3 separate regions of the Homo sapiens genome follow, and all the other regions are linked to region 1. The links are contacts of gene promoters, found by promoter capture Hi-C in blood cells and fetal thymus (Javierre and others, 2016). All regions are on one chromosome and are shown on one strand. The core of a region is centred on a gene start or on the middle of the fragment in contact, and the rest is flanking DNA. Distances in the headings are between cores, read along the strand shown. Region 1 overlaps INCR1 (interferon stimulated noncoding RNA 1). Region 2 holds the start of INSL4 (insulin like 4). Region 3 holds the start of RLN1 (relaxin 1).

Region 1 (2,598 bases), core at 37-2,536:
TGCTGCTTTTTCTTGTCTTAATGCACTTAGAAAATCCACTATAATGTTGAGTAGAAGTAAATAGGACTTCTAAGTCTTGTTCCTGATTTTAATAAGTCTGCTCATTATCTGCTGCATCTTTTGAGATTATCATATTTTTCCCCTGTAGTCTGTTAATGCGGTAAATTTTACATATATATATATATTTTTGTTTGTTTGTTTGTTTGTTTGGTTTTTGAGATGGTGTTTCACTCTTGCTGCCTAGGCTGGAGTGCAATGGTGCGATCTCAGCTCGCTGCAAACTCTGCCTCCTGGATTCAAGCGATTCTCGTGCCTCAGCCTCCCGAGTAGCTGGGATTACAGGTGTGTGCCACCACACCTGGCTAATTTTTGTATTTTTAGCAGAGAAAGGGTTTCACCATGTTGGTCAGGCTGGTCTCAAACTCCTGACCTCAGGTGATTTACCTGCCTTGGCCTCCCAAAGTGCTGGGATTTCAGGCATGAGCCACTGTGCCTGGCCAATGAATTATATTTTTATATTTTCTTTTCTTTATTATTATTATTATTATTATTTTGAGACAGGGTCTTGCTCTGTTGCCCAGGCTGGAGGGCAGTGGTGCCATCTTGGCTCACTGTAACCTTCACTTCCAGGCTCAAGTGATTCTCTCACCTCAGCCTCCCAAGTAGCTGGGACTACAGGCATGTGCTACCAAGCCTGGCTAATTTTTGTATTTTTTTTGGTAGAGACGGGGTTTTACCATGTTGCCCCGGTTGGTCTCTAACTCTTGGGCTCAAGTAATTCACCCACCTTGGCCTCTCAAGGCACTGGGGCTACAGGTGTGAGCCACCATGCCTAGCCATATTTTTTATTTCCTAATGTTTAACTGCGCTTGCATTTCTGGTTAAACTCAACTTGTTTATGATGTATTATCTATTTGAAATAAACTCCTAAGCTTGTTTCATTAGTATTTAATTTGAATTTGTAGCTATGTTTATGAGTGAGATTGGTTCAAAAGGTTTCTTTATTGTCCTGTCCTTCTTTGGTTTTGCTATCAAGGTTACGTTAATATCATTGAGTGAATTGTGTCATAGTCCCTCTTTTTCTGTTTTATAGGACATTTTTAAAGATTGGAATGATCTCGTTCTTGAAACCTAGGTGTAAGTAATTTGTAAACATATCTGAACTAAATATTTTCTTTGTGGGAAGATTTAAAAATATTGATTGCATTTCTTTGGTAGATACAAAACAATTCAGGTTCTCTGTTTTTGAGTAAGTTTTGGTAAATTATAGTTTTCTAGGAATTTGCCCATTTCACCTAAGTTTTTGAATATGTGGCCTAAATTGATTCAGAGTAGCTCATCTAAAAAAATCTTTGCCTTGTCTGTGATTAGGTCCCTTTTTATTCTAATATTGCTTATTTGTGCCTTCTTTTTTTTTCCTCGCTCAATCTCAGCAGAGATTGTTCTGTTTATAAAATAAAACTTTTAATTTTGTGGATTCTTTTTTTGTAGCTTTGTTTACTTTTTTCTGAACCTCTGTTTTTATCTCTGTTATCTATTTCCTCCTACTTTGATTGTTTTTCTATTTTTCCTCCTAATTTCTTGAGTTGAACACAAAGCTCATTAATTTTTAACCTTTCTTCTTGTCTGAAACAAGCTTTCAAATTAATAAATTGTCCTTAGAGAATGACTTTGACTGTTTTACAGAACATGGTAGGTGATATTTTCATTATCATTCGGCTTTTAGGATTTTTACATTTCTTCCATAATTTTTTCTTTGACACATGAATTACCTACAAGTGTGTTTCCACATTTTTCAATATATAAGAACTTTTATAGATTTATCTTTTGTTATTGCCTCTAACTTAATTACTTTGCGCACAGAGAATGAGGACTGTGTTATAATTTTGTGAGACTTGCCATATGGTCTAATAAATGGACAATTTTTGTAATTGCACTATGATATTTAAGAAAAATAAGTGCATTTGCCAACTGTTGGATGCAGAATTTTTATCTATTTGATTGTTATTAATTGTGTTGTTCAGATCTTCCATATTTTTAATATCTTTGCTTTGGGTGGTCTGTTGGTAATTGAGAGAGATATATTGAAAGCTCTCATTGGCAATTTCTCTTTGTAGTTCAGTAAATATTTGCTTTATATATTTGAAACAATTTTTCTAGGTGTAAAACTTTGAAGTTATTATATCACTGACAATTGGAACGTTTATAAAAATCAAGTAGTGGTCCCTCTCTAACTCTAACGATACCTATTTTCATCAGTCTATTTTGTGTGATTTTTAATATACACTTCTGTTTTTTTGGTTACTGTTTTCCTGCTACATCTTTCAACCATTTTGTGTCTTAAGTTTTAGGTTTTTCTTTTGAAAGAGCATGTAGTTAGAGGTTTTTTGTTTGTTTGTTCCCCAATCTGTCTTTTACTATAAAGTTTAGATTTATATTTATTATAATTATTAATATATCTAGACATTTTCTACCACCACACTTTTAATTTTTATTTGTCCAACTTTTATTTGGCTTTCCCCCTTTTCCTTTATTGCTCTCTACTCAGTTGATTGGGGTTGGGCTTTTGTTTGTAAGTTTGTTTTCTTTTTCCATTTT
Region 2 (2,598 bases), core at 70-2,569, 370 kb after region 1:
ACTTAGCTTTTCAGAACTTAATACGACCTATTAGACAGAATATAGTAGCCTCTATCTCTTTTCGAAACTGCCCCTGCTAGTTTTAACTTAGCTGGCAATTTATCTTTATGAATACCTTGTTACTTGGTAAAGTTTGAAAACTATCCTGGTATTGAACTTTCCTCAATTCTGAAATCTTGCTTTTAAAGAAAATGCTTTGCAGTCTCAAATGTTGAAAACACTAATCAAATCAGCTATGATGGTCTGAACAGTGAAATTCCCTTGTCTCTGGTCCCCTTCAATTTCCCCTCTAGTCATCCAGGCCACTTTCTTTCTCTTCATCTCATCTCTCTCAACACACTACAAGAGTAGATTCAAAGAAATGGGAGGCAAGGTGCTCTGTTGGTGTGCATTAAAAAAAACTTTTTTGTAAGAGGACGTTTTTGGTGACATAGACCACTGCCCAGCTTAATGACAAAGGATGAGAGTTATTAAATCTAAGCCCCCTTTATCTCACATTCCAGGAACCTAACAGAGGTCTCAGTGTGCTGCCCCTAGGCCAATAGGTGCATAAACAGAAATGATAATCAGCTCATCACCTCACTGTTTGTCCCCTTTCTTCTTAATTGAAGATGCCTGGCCCAGGCATCTCATTGCAATCACACCTGTTTTCTGGCCTGCCCAGCTTTCCTGGGGGTCTGGGAGTACACCTCACCTCCTGCTGGTGTTTGAGAATAGTCACCTTCTCTGAGGATTCCCTGTTTTCTCCACCCTGTATCTCTGGCTGCCAGGTGGGAAAGGCACCAAGAGCCTCCAAGGTGAGGCTGTTCTTCTGTTTTTCCTGCAGCTTCTCCTCTACCCCCAACTTCCCATGAGATTTCTGGTGAGACCCTTTTAATAAAAGCACATTACAATGAAAAACCACAAACTTGTAGGCACTAGCCACAGTAGAGTCTGAGTTGACTACAGGCAGTCAATGAGATCTGGAGCCTGTTTTTTCAGGCCTCATTCTGATTGTTTGGTAGTCCAGGGCTCTCACCTTTGGGACGTCCAGATTCCAGCAGCCACCCTCCTGGGGTGGTGGTGAATGTCTTCTCAGGCATGGGGCAATATGACAGCAAGTGTTTTCCAAATCGGGGACCACATCCCCTCAGCTCTGCTGCTAGGCTTTCTCTAAGGAGTTGGCTCAGCAGCAGCCAGATTGCTGGCAGATAGGACCGGAACAGGCTGGCCATCCTGGACCTGAACTCTCCTGTTCTGGGTGTTCTCAGCCTTTCTTTAGAGACTTGCTGCTGTAGCCTACCAGACTGTGCTGGTGTGTCCCTTCTGGGCTCCAGACTGCTTTCTGCATGCCTTCATCAGGCATTTATTTGCTTAGGGCTATTACTCAGCTTTTGCGTCAATGGTGTCAGTTCCACCCCTTTCCCACCCACCTACAAGGAACTTTCTCCCTCAGTTCTTATTTAGTCTCCCTACTTGCCCTACCCACACTCTCATATCCCTCTTTGCTCCCAATGTGCTGCTGCACTTTGCTTGTTTTGAATTTGGTTGTTCTACTTCTTTTTCTTAACTTTCCTCCTGTAATACTATTTTTATGCTTACTAAAATAATGGTAATTTTTAATGTCCTTTGCTTAGATGAAATAAAAATAGAACTGACCTGTAAGCTCATTGGCTAGAAATTATCTTAGTTAACATTTGGCATATAAGCTTTTAATTGCGGGGGTCTGTCCCACAGACCCTGACCCAACGACGGATGAATAACATACACTGACACAGATAGTTTGCCTGTCAGTCCAGCTGAGGGTCCGGGCCACCTACAGACACCAAGGAGGGTGCTGTAAAGAGTTGCAGCCGTGGCCCCGATCAGCCAGCAAAGCTCACATTTATTCAGCATAGATTAAATGACGAAGGTCTTGAGTAAACACCACTAGAAGGTAATTGACATTGCCAACCTCCCGAGTAGAGAGCAATTATGCACCCGCGGTTGATCAAAGATTAGTCTTAGGACCACATGAGTAAACAAACTAGATAAACTACATTCATTTGTATCTGTGCCTTAAGCTATTAACTCAAGGTAAGGATTAGGCTGCCTTCAGCCTGATCTATTACTGGAGCTTATACAAACCCCTCCGGCGTTTCAAAAAGGTTTGCGTCTTTTTCTTATAACTATCTGAAAAAATTTTCCCACCAGCCTGACTGAACTCTCACATCTCCCCCCTTTCTGTTCTTTGCATCGGGTTCTGTTGACTTAAGAGTACAGATGTGTGCAGCAACAGGTTTGTTAGGTTTTGCTTTTATTCCGGCTTTGCATCATAGAATTAGCAAATAACGTAAGACAATCATGAGTATAATTAGTAACATTCCTTTCCAGTCAAAGTGTGACCCCCAGGATCGGGGGTATAACCAGGAGAAATGATCTTGCACACCTTTCCATATGGCTGTTTGTTGAGTATGTAGATCTATCATGTGAAGGGATTCTAAAATTTTAGTTTTAAGTTGCTTTACGTCTGCTGTTAAATTGTCATGAAAGTTTCCCCAGAGGTGTTGTTTCACCTCATCCCAACTATGTATTGATTGATTCCAAGGTAAAAATGTGACACAGATATGTTTATGCTCC
Region 3 (2,598 bases), core at 49-2,548, 260 kb after region 1:
TTTTACAAGGACTGTTAACCCACGAAAATATTTTCAAACCTCAGTTTTGAGAGGCCTTTCTCAAACTGTGTGTTTTAGTGAAAATCCATTTAAAATCATTAATTGCCTCTAACCATCTCATAGCTTTGGTCAGGTATTTTTTGAAGAATTACACATTGCTTGGCATTTGACCAATGTTAAGTGGGCCTACTGAAATCACCAGCAATCTAGAAATTAGAATTACTTGATTCCATAGTTATGTTTGTAACTAAGAGATTGTTATTATTTTATTTCAAAGCTACCATAACGTCCTGCATGTCTCCAGTTTATCTGATGGAGCTGAACTAATCTGAGTATATTATGAACACAAGCAAGTAAGTTATTTTTAAAAATGAACCTATTTGTACTAAAAATTTACAGGTAGAAGGGTCGTCTACTAACCATATTATCTAGAACTGTGTGGATCTTTAAAATGCTAAATTAGGTGGTGGTAATAAAAAAAGAATCACCTCTAACCAGGTGCAGCAAACACAAAATACAGTAAACAAATGAACATATCCTTGTGCTGTAATTTGTTATCAAAATATTATTTCTGGGAATGTGGGATGTCCACTGCTTTTTTTCCCCTTCTTCTTTCTCTTCTTCTTTTCTCTCTCTCTTTCTCTCTCTCTGTGTGTGTGGTGTGTTCTCCAGTCTCCAGAGACATAGACTAGAATTTTAAATTAAAATATTTAGACAACTAGTTACAATCAAACTTCTCCCACAGGAGTGGAAGGAAAGTCCAATGGAGAAATTGTTTTGTAAATTAAAGACATTACTGCACAAGCCTAAAATGATGTTACTGGGGATTTTAATCTTTTTACCTGGATTCAGATTAAAAGTCATCAGTTTTCCCTCTCATCAACAATTTATTCATTCATCCATTATATTTTTATGGATTGATATGCCCAACATTATACTAATTAATCCAATTTATAAGGTAATCTATAATCCTATTTAGGTTAGAAGGGTTTTTGGCAAATGTTCACTCTGGAAAACTGGGTTGTAAGAATATTGGCGATCTCAATTTTATTTCTGTGTATGTAAAAAGAAAGGCTTCATATCTAAAATAACTTTACCTAAGTATACAAAGTTGTTTCAGGGTAACAAAAGAGCGAAAAACAAAACTGTAAAAGGGCCAAGGACAGAGGAATGGGCAAATGAAGGAAGGGCGGAGAGGCAGAACAAGAGCTGAAGGAGAAAATTCTGTGGAGGGGTGTGGGAAAGGGGTGGAGCTGGCAACCTTGCCTTAAAAGCTGAGTGATAGCCCATACTAAAGACTGGTTGAGCCGGGTAGGGAAAGCAGCCTAAAGCCCGGGACAGGCACACAGGCCCAGGTGTGTAGGCCACAGCAGCCGCAGTCCTGAAAGGCTGCAACACCCAGACCTCCAGGAGAGACCAGGCCCAGGATGCCTCGCCTGTTCTTGTTCCACCTGCTAGAATTCTGTTTACTACTGAACCAATTTTCCAGAGCAGTCGCGGCCAAATGGAAGGACGATGTTATTAAATTATGCGGCCGCGAATTAGTTCGCGCGCAGATTGCCATTTGCGGCATGAGCACCTGGAGCAAAAGGTCTCTGAGCCAGGAAGATGCTCCTCAGACACCTAGACCAGTGGCAGGTGAGAGCTCCCGCCCCCTCCCGGCCTTCCCGCGCTTCCCATTGGTTACTCTGGGGCGGCCGCCCAATTGGAACGGCGGCCTGCACGTCCGACTCGAGATCTCATTGGCTGCCACCGCTCAGCCCCTACTCAGCCGTGGCTGGTCCCTAAAGTTTGGGCTTTTCCTTTGCCAGGTGATTTTATTCAAACAGTCTCACTGGGAATCTCACCGGACGGAGGGAAAGCACTGAGAACAGGAAGCTGCTTCACCCGAGAGTTCCTTGGTGCCCTTTCCGTAAGGCAGTCAGAGCGACGGGGTGGAAAGGGAGGGGAAGCCTCAGAGGAGGTGACGCCGCCCGGAGACCCGCAGGAGGCCGGGCGCACTCCTGCACCCCACAGGAAAGCCAGGCGGCCAGACAGCGGGCGTGCTGGTGGGGGCACCTGAACAGGGCTTCTCGGATAGAGAGGAGAGGGGACAAACACTGAGGCGGCGCGCTAGTTATCAAGCCTGTTTGCGCGCCTGTAGGACGGGGCAACACTCTGAGGTCTCTGTGAGGGTCCCGTGATGGGAAGACAGGAAGGGCCTTACACTTAATGACTCTCCTAGTCCAGAAGTTGGGCTGTGGCCTTTGCCATTGGAAACGTTCTTTAAAATAAACAAACAGAAAATCCCAAAGGAAAGAGTCTGACCTCCCGCTTCTTTGATCTGGGTATTGAAGTTCATTTGTGAGGCAGGGGATGGAAGAGAAAGGAAAGGCTTGAATGCCTTTAGGAGAAACTCAAGAGGACCAGAGACAAGGAAAGCAGGCCGTTCAGACCATCATAGCTGAAGACCCTACTGATGCTTTCAAGCATTTGGAAGCTGCAGTGGGTTTGCTTTAAAGGCAAGCTCTTAGAGTTGAGTACAGCTCAATCTGAAATGGCTTTTAAAAATATTTTAGTATTTATAAAGTAGCAGTGGAAACTCATGGAGGTATATAC

The links. Contacts are between HindIII fragments. The CHiCAGO score rates a contact against its expected background, and 5 or more counts as called.
Region 2: a contact is called between the fragment with the promoter of INSL4 here and a fragment that was not itself captured in region 1, in 8 of 17 cell types (activated CD4 T cells, endothelial precursors, naive CD4 T cells and 5 more). The highest score is 11.1, in activated CD4 T cells.
Region 3: the fragment with the promoter of RLN1 here is called in contact with a fragment that was not itself captured in region 1 in 4 of 17 cell types (non-activated CD4 T cells, activated CD4 T cells, naive CD4 T cells and 1 more); the score reaches 8.2 in non-activated CD4 T cells.

Annotation. Positions count from the first base shown.
Region 1 is chr9:5,603,431-5,606,028 of GRCh38, reverse strand. The region is part of intron 1 of INCR1 (interferon stimulated noncoding RNA 1); the gene reads left to right. Among named protein-coding and RNA genes, the nearest start is that of RIC1, 24 kb to the left of the region's middle. The HindIII fragment of the contact is 704 bases long and covers 935-1,638 here.
Region 2 is chr9:5,230,140-5,232,737 of GRCh38, reverse strand. INSL4 (insulin like 4) reads right to left here and starts at 1,319. Exons shown (of 2, transcript NM_002195.2): 1 at 1,019-1,319. The coding sequence starts at 1,214. RefSeq lists a promoter at 1,225-2,042. The HindIII fragment of the contact is 5,637 bases long and covers 1-1,690 here.
Region 3 is chr9:5,338,576-5,341,173 of GRCh38, reverse strand. It overlaps RLN1 (relaxin 1), which reads left to right and starts at 1,298. Exons shown (of 2, transcript NM_006911.4): 1 at 1,298-1,638. The coding sequence starts at 1,428. It also overlaps a transcript of RLN2 not described here. The HindIII fragment of the contact is 10,294 bases long and covers 1-2,598 here.